Regions from separate parts of the Homo sapiens genome. Here region 2 is linked to region 1. Evidence: promoter capture Hi-C in human tissues and cell types (Jung and others, 2019). All regions are on one chromosome and are shown on one strand. Each heading gives the region's core, a stretch centred on a gene start or on the middle of the fragment in contact. The rest is flanking DNA. Distances are from core to core; before and after follow the strand shown. Region 1 holds the start of MOCOS (molybdenum cofactor sulfurase). Region 2 overlaps RMP24 (ribonuclease MRP subunit p24).

Evidence for each region. The method cuts DNA at HindIII sites, captures the fragments that hold promoters and counts their contacts. A contact is called where the count stands out against the background at its distance.
Region 2: a fragment that was not itself captured here is called in contact with the fragment with the promoter of MOCOS in region 1 in 2 of the 25 tissues and cell types used here (heart left ventricle and mesenchymal stem cells).

The regions. Positions count from the first base shown.
Region 1 is chr18:36,185,490-36,189,939 of GRCh38, forward strand. MOCOS (molybdenum cofactor sulfurase) reads left to right here and starts at 2,008. Exons shown (of 15, transcript NM_017947.4): 1 at 2,008-2,192. The coding sequence starts at 2,051. It overlaps COSMOC (cell fate and sterol metabolism associated divergent transcript of MOCOS), which reads right to left and starts at 1,946. Exons shown (of 2, transcript NR_134605.1): 1 at 1,746-1,946. RefSeq lists an enhancer at 230-1,052 and silencers at 1,812-2,075, 1,921-2,110. The HindIII fragment of the contact is 25,317 bases long and covers 1-4,450 here.
Region 2 is chr18:35,976,843-35,981,292 of GRCh38, forward strand. It overlaps RMP24 (ribonuclease MRP subunit p24), which reads left to right. Exons shown (of 5, transcript NM_031446.5): 4 at 568-758; 5 at 1,993-2,436. The coding sequence ends at 2,164. Among named protein-coding and RNA genes, the nearest start is that of RMP24, 6.4 kb to the left of the region's middle. The HindIII fragment of the contact is 4,569 bases long and covers 1-4,450 here.

The DNA.
Region 1 (4,450 bases), core at 758-3,257:
ACCCCTCTCAACTTAGATGGGGAAACTGAGGCCCTGGGAACCACGGTGGCTCACACCAGAGAGTTAGCAAAACACACTTCCCTGCCTGGGCTCTGGAGACTGACTTCCCAGGTGCTAGCTTGTCTTCTAGCTGTGTGCCCGTGTGCAAGTTATTCTGCCTCTCTCTGCCTCAGCTTCCCCATCTGTAAGAGCCACCTCCTAGATCTGCATATTTAATCATTGAACGACCAGGACAGGTAAGAGTGTACACAGTGCAGTGCCTGGCACACAGTGAGGCCCTGTAACTAGCTCTTGTTATTAGTGCTGCCCAAAGCCACATTCACAGAAGACAGTCCAGTATCCAAAGTGCCTGCTTGAAGCATGGCCAGAAGGCAAGCAGATGGTGGGGTGGGCAGTGATGTCAATGAGCAAATGCCTGCATCCATCCATCAGTACATTAACTCCTCCTCGAACAACTATGGGTGTTTGTCGAGTAAGGTCCTGGACATTCAGCAGTGAGGGAGAGAGCGGGGGTGGTCAGTGGGCAGAGGCCACTGAGGAATATGGGTACCTGGGCATGGACCCTAGCGCTGCAGTCCACAGACCCCTGGGTCTCCGGCCAGGGGGAAATGAGCTCTTAGTGGCGGGTCTTTCTCTGGCCTGGTATCAGGGGCCTGGGCGGGAGAGCCAGGGCTGCGTGCTGCCTTCCCATGGCTCTCACGCTGGGCACCGGTATGCATCATGCATCAGCAAGGATCCTAGGGCATCTGCGGCCCATACCCTGGGTGGCAGCTGGCCTGGATGCAGCACAGGTTGAGCTCTTGGGGCATAGGCCTCCTTCCCACCTTGTCCCCCCGCTGTATGCCTCCAGGGCCTGTGGGCCGCCTGCACCTGGTCGCCGGCCTTGGGTTCTCCACCGAGCCTGCCTCTGAGTTATCTCCCCTGAGCCCCAGCACCTGCCGCCCATCCGCACTGTCCACCATCCCTGACATTCGATTCCCCCACGAGGCACCTCGCCTGTGCGTGCAGTACCTGTTTTGCTTCCACCCCATTCCCAGCAGCGGGTTCCGCACCTGGGATCGCACGTGAGATTTCCCCCCACCCCCCAACCGCATGCCTGGGCTCTACTACCTGCACCTGCCGCCCCACCCCTGCATCCCGCTCCGCACTTCCCGCGCATAGGTTTGGCCAGGCCCTCCCTATTGAGGCACCTGTTCTCCAAGACAGAGCCGCTGTGTCCCAGGTGCTCTGGGTGCAGGCGCGAGTGGGGATTGAAGGAGGCGCTCTTATTCCACTCTGTCCGGGACAGGGGCGGCTTTGTCCTAGGGCACTCTTGCTTTAATAGAGAGGGCCCGGCCACACCCACGTGCGGGAAGTGCGGGGCGGGATGCAGGGTTGGGGAGGCAAGGGCAGGAAGTAGGGCCCAGGACGCGGTTGGGAGGGCGGGGAAGCTCAGCTCACTTGGATCCCAGCTGCAGGGCCCGCTCCGGGGGAAGCCCCCGAGCTTCCCGGTTCCGAAAGTGTGCAGCCACTGAGAATTTATTAGCCTCGTGGATCCCTAATCTTTCCCCTTTTCTACCCTTTGGTCAGCCGCATTCTAACAAACGGCAAGCACACGCCCCGCTGGGTAGCAGCAACCCGAGAACGCCCCCACCCCCGCCCCCGCCAGACGCCGGTTCCCGCTTGAGAGGGTGAGGGTCCCGAGACCCCTGCGAGGAGGAGGGTCGCGGGGTTCCAGGATGCCGATGCCAAGCAGGAAAGATCACCTCGTTGCTTCTTCCACCGGCCTCTCCGCGAGACATAGCTAAACTTGAACTTGGCATTCCAAGGGTCTGGAAACATCTTCGTGGGACCCATCGAGAGGTTGTTTAAAGACTGGCACCCGCTCCCGCGCCCAGGTGGGGAAAGGGCTGGCCAGAAGTGAAAGTCCGGTCGGGGCGCCACACCTAGGCTGCGGATTCCGAGAGACTGGGAGGCTGGAGGCCTGGGAGGCGTGGCGGGGGCGGAGTCGCCGGGGGCCGGCTTCGCGCACTTCCCGGGCCCGGCCGGCCTGGATGGACTAGCCGGGGCCATGGCCGGCGCGGCGGCGGAGTCAGGGCGGGAGCTGTGGACCTTCGCGGGTTCCCGGGACCCGAGCGCACCGCGGCTAGCCTACGGCTACGGCCCGGGCAGCCTGCGCGAGCTGCGGGCGCGCGAGTTCAGCCGCCTGGCAGGTGAGGCGGGCGGGCAGGCTTGGGGGACACGAGGTTTCTGGAACCGACGTGGACGGATCTTTTGCTCCTAGTGAGAGCGGCGCTACCTCATTCGGGCGCATTTTGAATCGAAACTCCAGGAGGGACGTGTCCACGCGTCCTCCTAGTAGACACGGCTCCCTGAGGTCCCACCTGCAGCCCCAAGGCTTCTTGCTACTCTTACTCTTCCGACTTTCCGGTGGGCAGGACCAACCTAGCCGTCTTCCCCTTTTCCCGCCCTCCGCGAGCGGGGCTTAGGATGGTTCTTGCCCTCTCTTGCGGGAGACCCCTCACTGTAAAGGGCCTGCTGGGGCCGGGGTTGCAAAAGACAGCATGTCCAGCGGCCGTGACCCTTCGGATGTCCTCCCGAGGTAGGAGCGGTGCGTGGACCGCCAGCGCCCGGGCTGGGACAGCACCTCTGACGGCGCGCCAGGTTGGGACCGGGAGGCCAAGGCCTCTTGGCCGGGGCCTCCCGAGGCTGCGCTCTGCAGACTCCTCTGGGATAGCCTGTATTCAGCTTTGATTTTCGAAACCTCATTTTCCTTACTCTTACAGCGTCAGAACAATCCCTCTGAGCTCCAGTTCTCTGGGGGACTAGAAGAATTAGCAAACAGTGCAATTTCACCTTTAAGAACAGGGCGAGCCTGTGAATTAGACAACACCAAGATCACATCGTGCCTTTCCTCAGAGCGGAACAGGCTGATGAAATTGCAAATCAAGCTCCATCTGGCCTTGGCCGACCCAGCCCTCTGCTGCCAGGGCCCAAGTTCGTGACTCATCCCTCTGCCAGGGACTTTGGGTGCAGGGCTTCATCAAGCCCCAGGGCCGCGTGCCGGATGGTCAAGGAGGGTGTGCAGGTGAAGTGGGCACGTCTTGGCACAGGGCACCGGGGTTTGAGTGTATCTGCTCTGTCGCGATGAACAACTGGTGACTGCTCCCCTTCTGGGGGCAGAACAGCAACCATGACTTAGGTTTCACTACTCGGGTAGCTGATTTCAGCGCTTCGGGTCACTTCCTGGTGTTGTGGAGGGTAACTGTGTTTTCCCTTTGGGGGCTGTGAGAACTGTGGCCTCCTCCTGTGTGTCTCCTCTGGCTTCCTAAGTAGGGAGAGTCAGGAGGGAGACGGGGGTGCCTTCTGCCAACCTCTCTATTCACTCCTCATCCTTCCCTCTCGCAGGGTCACCTGCTGGAGACAGCTCCTCACCCTTCTTTCGTATTCTCTCTCTCTCTCTCTCTCTCAACTATTAATTATGGAAATTTCCTACCACTCAGAAATAGAGGGGTACTATGAATGCCTACAGGTGCTGGGGAGGGAGGCTCTCCATTCTTTGAAGCAACTCTTCAAGGCTACCTGAGTAATTATATCAGCACCGCACCTCCTTAATCCCCTAAATCTCCTCCAGCTGTGATCTCTCACGCCCACTATTGGCCAACCTCTCCCCTCAATGCTACCCTGGGAAAGTAGAGCTATGTTCTGGTCCCCTCCTGGTTTCACTCTTGTCCCTCAGAGAACAGTACTTTTCCCCTCAAATGCAAAATTGGGATGTGTCAGCCAGGCTGGCCCTCAGAACTCGTTACCACTTACTGTATGTCTGGTAGTGTTGTGGGCATCTTTTATTTAATGCAAGTTCCTTGTATTTCCTCTACATTACGGTTAAAGCAGACATTTGTGCACTAATCTGACGCCCCTCCCACTGCTGGGAGTCTTGGAACATGTCCACTTGTTTTTCTCCTAGAAACAAGACAGAGAGAGGGCGGGAAAAAACAAACCAAAATAACATCACCTCTTCCTCGTTCCTCCTCTCCCCTCATGAAGTTTTTCTGCCAATTTGAGAATTACTCTGGTTAAGTGGTGGCTCAGAATAATTAAATGCTTAAGATTTAAGTGCTGAAATGTGTTACCTAAAGATTTGGATGGGAACTTCCTTGCCTTTGTGAAGGGAGAGTATTGAATATACGGATGTGTGTCAAGGGTCTCTGGAAGCCTTCGTGCTGAATCATGACCACTCACCATGCTGGAAAGAGAACTGGAGGGGGATGACCTAGAGCTGACCCTGGAATTCTCTTTCCTGAAGAAGGTCTGATGCCATTTAACTTTGGGGTAATTCACCTGTTTCTAATAACAGCTACACCTGTGTCCCGAGCATTGGACTGGATGCTGCCATATAGCAGCTCATTTAACCTTTGTCCCATCTGCAGATGAAAGAACAGGGGCCCAGAATGGCTACTGGTGGAGCCAG
Region 2 (4,450 bases), core at 961-3,460, 210 kb before region 1:
TATTTAAAAAGTAGAGTTCATTATCTTTGAAAACCTATTTTAAATTAAATACAAATGTTTAGCCATTCATTTTTATTGAACATTTTCTCATTTAAAATTTGTCGGCTGGGCACAGTGACTCAAGCCTGTAATCCCAGCATTTTGGGAGGCCGAGGCGGGTGGATCGCCTGAGGTCAGGAGTTCAAGACCAGGCTGGCCAACATGGCGAAACCCTGCCTACTAAAAATACAGAATTAGCCAGGCACAGTGGAAGGCGCCTGGTCTCAGCTACATGGGAGGCTGAGGCAGGAGGATCACTTGAACCCAGGAGGCAGAGGTTGCAGTGAGCTGAGATCACGCCACTGCACTCCAGCCTGGGGACAGAGCAAGACTCCGTCTCAAAAAAAAAAAAATGTCTTGTCTGATTCTCGCTACTAGATTGCAAGTTCCCCAAGGACAGCCTCTATTTTACTTACCCCTATAGTATCTGGTGTAGTCCCTGACATTTAAGAATTCAATGAACCTGTGGTTTATGGGGTTAAATTATAAGATAAATGACGGGACTGATATTTCTTATTTTTATGGTAGTTGATCACTTGTAAAACATGCAACAGAACAGTGAAACATCATGGTAAAAGTAGAAGCTTTGTGTCAACATTGAAGAGCAATCCTGCCACTCCTACAAGTAAACTCAGCCTGAAGACACCAGAGAGAAGGACTGCAAACCCAAATCATGACATGTCTGGCTCGAAAGGCAAGAGCCCAGCATCGGTTTTCAGGTATCTTAATCCATGAAGTTTTTGAATTGCCAGTGTTAAGTGTTTTCTTCTAATTTCCTGTGTTTAATATATACTCCCTAAATATGCCATGCATTTCAGGACTTGGCCATTTTTCCTCCATACCCTTTTCTAATGTCACATACTCCCATATCTTCAATGCTCATTTCAATGCATTTGACTTCTAGGTATGTTACTCTACTTCCAACATCTCCTGTGCCTATTTCCAGCTGCCTGCTAAATATAACCACTTCAGTCCCCTACATGTTCAAAACTTAGTTCATCATTGCCCCACAGCTAACCACTCAAACCTGTCCATCCTCCTGAGTTCCTTATTCTGTGAATGAACACACCTTTCTGGACATTTTGACCTAAAATGACAGGTACATTCAAAAATCCCTATTCCCTTGGTCCTTGTCACCGATTTCTATATATCCTACTTCCCTGTTTTCATCTTTTTGCTCCTTTTTCTCCATAGTGCTGCTATATTCTGGTTCAGGTCCTTATGCACCATTTGTCAGGACTACTGCAGTGATTTTCCTCATGGGTCTCCCTGCTTCTAGGATCAAACTCTTTTAGTGTGATCATCTTTCTGGAGCATAGCTCTGATTAGAAGCATCACTGTGTAGCATATGGATAAATGCTCTAGCATGGCTTTCCAGCCCTATCTGGCACCAGTCTGTCTGCCTGTCTTTCTTTGCCTTAAATCATCCTATGTGCCAACAAAACTGAACCATTCACGGCCGGGCATGGTGGCTCACACCTGTAATCCCAGCACTTTGGGAGGCTGAGGTGGGCGGCTCAGGAGTTCAAGACCAGCCTGTGCAACACGGTGAAATCCCATCTCTACTAAAATACAAAAGATTAGCCAGGCGTAGCGGCGTGCGCCTGTAGTCCCAGCTATTTGGGAGGCTGAGGCGGGAGAACTGCTTGAACCTGGGAGGCAGAGGTTGCAGTGAGCTGAGATGGCGCCACTGCACTCCAGCCTGGGCGACAGAGCGAGACTCCGTCTCCAAAAAAAAAAATACTGAACCATTCATAATACACTTTCTTGCCCTAAACATTTGTTCTTGCCCTTTTCTCTGTCAGAAATTCCTGAGGAAATCTAACTGAACAGGGATTTGTCAAATGATAATACACCGAGGATAGCCAGTGCATGTATATGGCCATAATACAAAAGAGTAGAAAATGATTGTCATTTGTTGGTATAACTAAGTGTGGTTTTGTTTCTTTTCAGAACACCTACATCTGGACAGTCAGTATCTACTTGCTCCTCAAAGAACACCAGCAAAACAAAGAAACACTTCTCTCAACTAAAAATGTTACTTAGTCAGAATGAATCCCAAAAGATTCCAAAGGTGGACTTCAGAAATTTCTTATCTTCTCTGAAGGGTGGACTTTTAAAATAAGAAATGCCTGATGTCAATTCTGAAACTAAAGTTGGTAAAACAACTTTTTAAACTCTTATTCATTTTTTGAATACATGGAAACTAGATCTGAATGCAAACTTTTCTTGGCATCCTTCAGTGTTTATGGGGAAAATACCTCATTAGTGTGAATACCTGAAACCTGCCTACCTCATAGGACAGCTGTGAGGATCAAAAAATATATGAAAGTTCCTTGTAGATACATATCTATAGATATATATGTGTATGTATATAAAGATAGATATATACATTGAGTAGTGGCATTACTGTTTTTTCTTCCTTTAGTCAGCAGTTTTTATTTATGTTATTGTCTTTCAAAAGGAAATTGAGATCTTTATGAGAGGGTCTATTCACTCAAGGGTTTCTTCCATGTGTCTATAGCATTGTTGATAATTCAGGAATAGGATCAAGTGGGTCCTTATTTTCTCACAATTATCTGCATAACTATCTTAGTAAAACCTGAACCTTATTCCTATTTTGATTGCAAAAGTAAATATCTGGAACATTCCTGATTATAGATCACTCAATAGGAAACTAAAATTTTCTTTCTTAGAAAAGGAAACATACTGTTGGTGATACTATAAATTAGTACAGCAACTTTGGAAAACAGTATGGAGGTTCCTCAAAAAACTAAAGGTAGAATTACCATATGATCCCATATCTGCATATATATCCAAAGGAATTGAAATCAGTATGTCAAAGAGATGTCTGCCCTACAGTGTTTCATTGTAGGATTATTCACAATAACCAAGATATGAAAACAACAGAAATGCTTGTCAAAGGATGGATTTTTGTAAATGTGTATATACACAATGGAATACTATTCAGCCTTTAAAAAGCAAGAAATTCTGTCAGTTATGATAACATGGATGAACCTAGCGGACATTATGCTAAGTGAAATAAGCCAGACACAGAGAGACAAATACTGTATTATTTACATGGGATCTAAAAAAGTAGAGCTCATAGAAGTAGAGGATATAATAGTGATTACTGGAGGCTGTGGTTGGGGGAGGGGAAATTTCAATTAAGAGGAATAAGTTCTATGATCTCTTGTACAGCATGATGACTCTAGTTAATGTATATTTCAAAATAGCTGAAAGAGGATTTTTGGCCTTTTTTTTTTTTTTTTTTTTTTTTTTAAGAGACAGAGTCTTGCTCTGTCATCTGGGCTGGAGTGCTATAGCATGATTATAGATCACTGTAGCCTTGAACTCCTGGGCTCAAGTGATCCTGTTGCCTCAGCCTCCAGAATAGCTGGAACTACAGACACACACCACTGCACCTGGCTAATATTTTATTTTAATTTTTTTCATTTCCCACTATAAGAAGCCATAATTTTTTTTATTTTTTGTAGAGGCAGGATCTTACTTTGTTGCCCAGGCTTGTCTTGAATTCCTGGCTTCAAGCAATCCTCCTAACTCAACCTCCCAAAGTGCTACGATTACAGGTGTGAGCCACAGTGCCCAGCCAAAAGAGGGTTTTTTAATGTTCTCGCCACAAAGAAATGATAAATGTTTGAGGTGATGGATCTATTAATTAGCCTGATTGGATTACACCAGTGTATACATGTAATGAAACATCACATTGTGTCCCATAAATATATACAATTATTATTTGTCTTTTTTTTTTTTTTTTTGAGACGGAGTCTCACTCTGTCACCTGGGCTGGAGTGCAGTGGTGCAATCTTGTCTCACTGCAGCCTCCACCTCCTGGGTTCAAGCAATTCTCCTGCCTCAGCCTCCTGAGTAGCTGGGATTACAGGTGCCCGCCACTACGCCCAGCTAATTTTTTGTATTTTTAGTAGAGATGGGGTTTCACCGTGTTGGCCAGGCTGGTCTCGAACTCCTGACCTAGTGATTCGCCCGTCTCGGCCGTCCAAAGTGCTGGGATTATAGGTGTGAGCCACCACGCCTGGCCTACAATTATTATTTATCAATTAAAAATACTCAAAGGCCAAGATTAACAACTTGTTCTTATAGTTGCATGAAATGAAATTGTGCTAACTGGTGCCAGCACCAAAAGGCCAGGTATTCACTTTGTGTCCACAACATTTGGCACAACACAATGGTCATGGTAGCTGCTTTACCTTTCTGACTAACTTCTCTCTAGAACATCTGTTTCTCTTGAACTCGTCTTGCTCCTGATCACCTGGTCATAGCGAGCTCTTTGCAGTTCTCAATGCATACCATGTACTTGGCAGCTTCGGGCCTCTGCATGTGCTTTTTCCTTTAGGTCTCACTTTGGAGACTGCCCTCCACCCCAACCCCA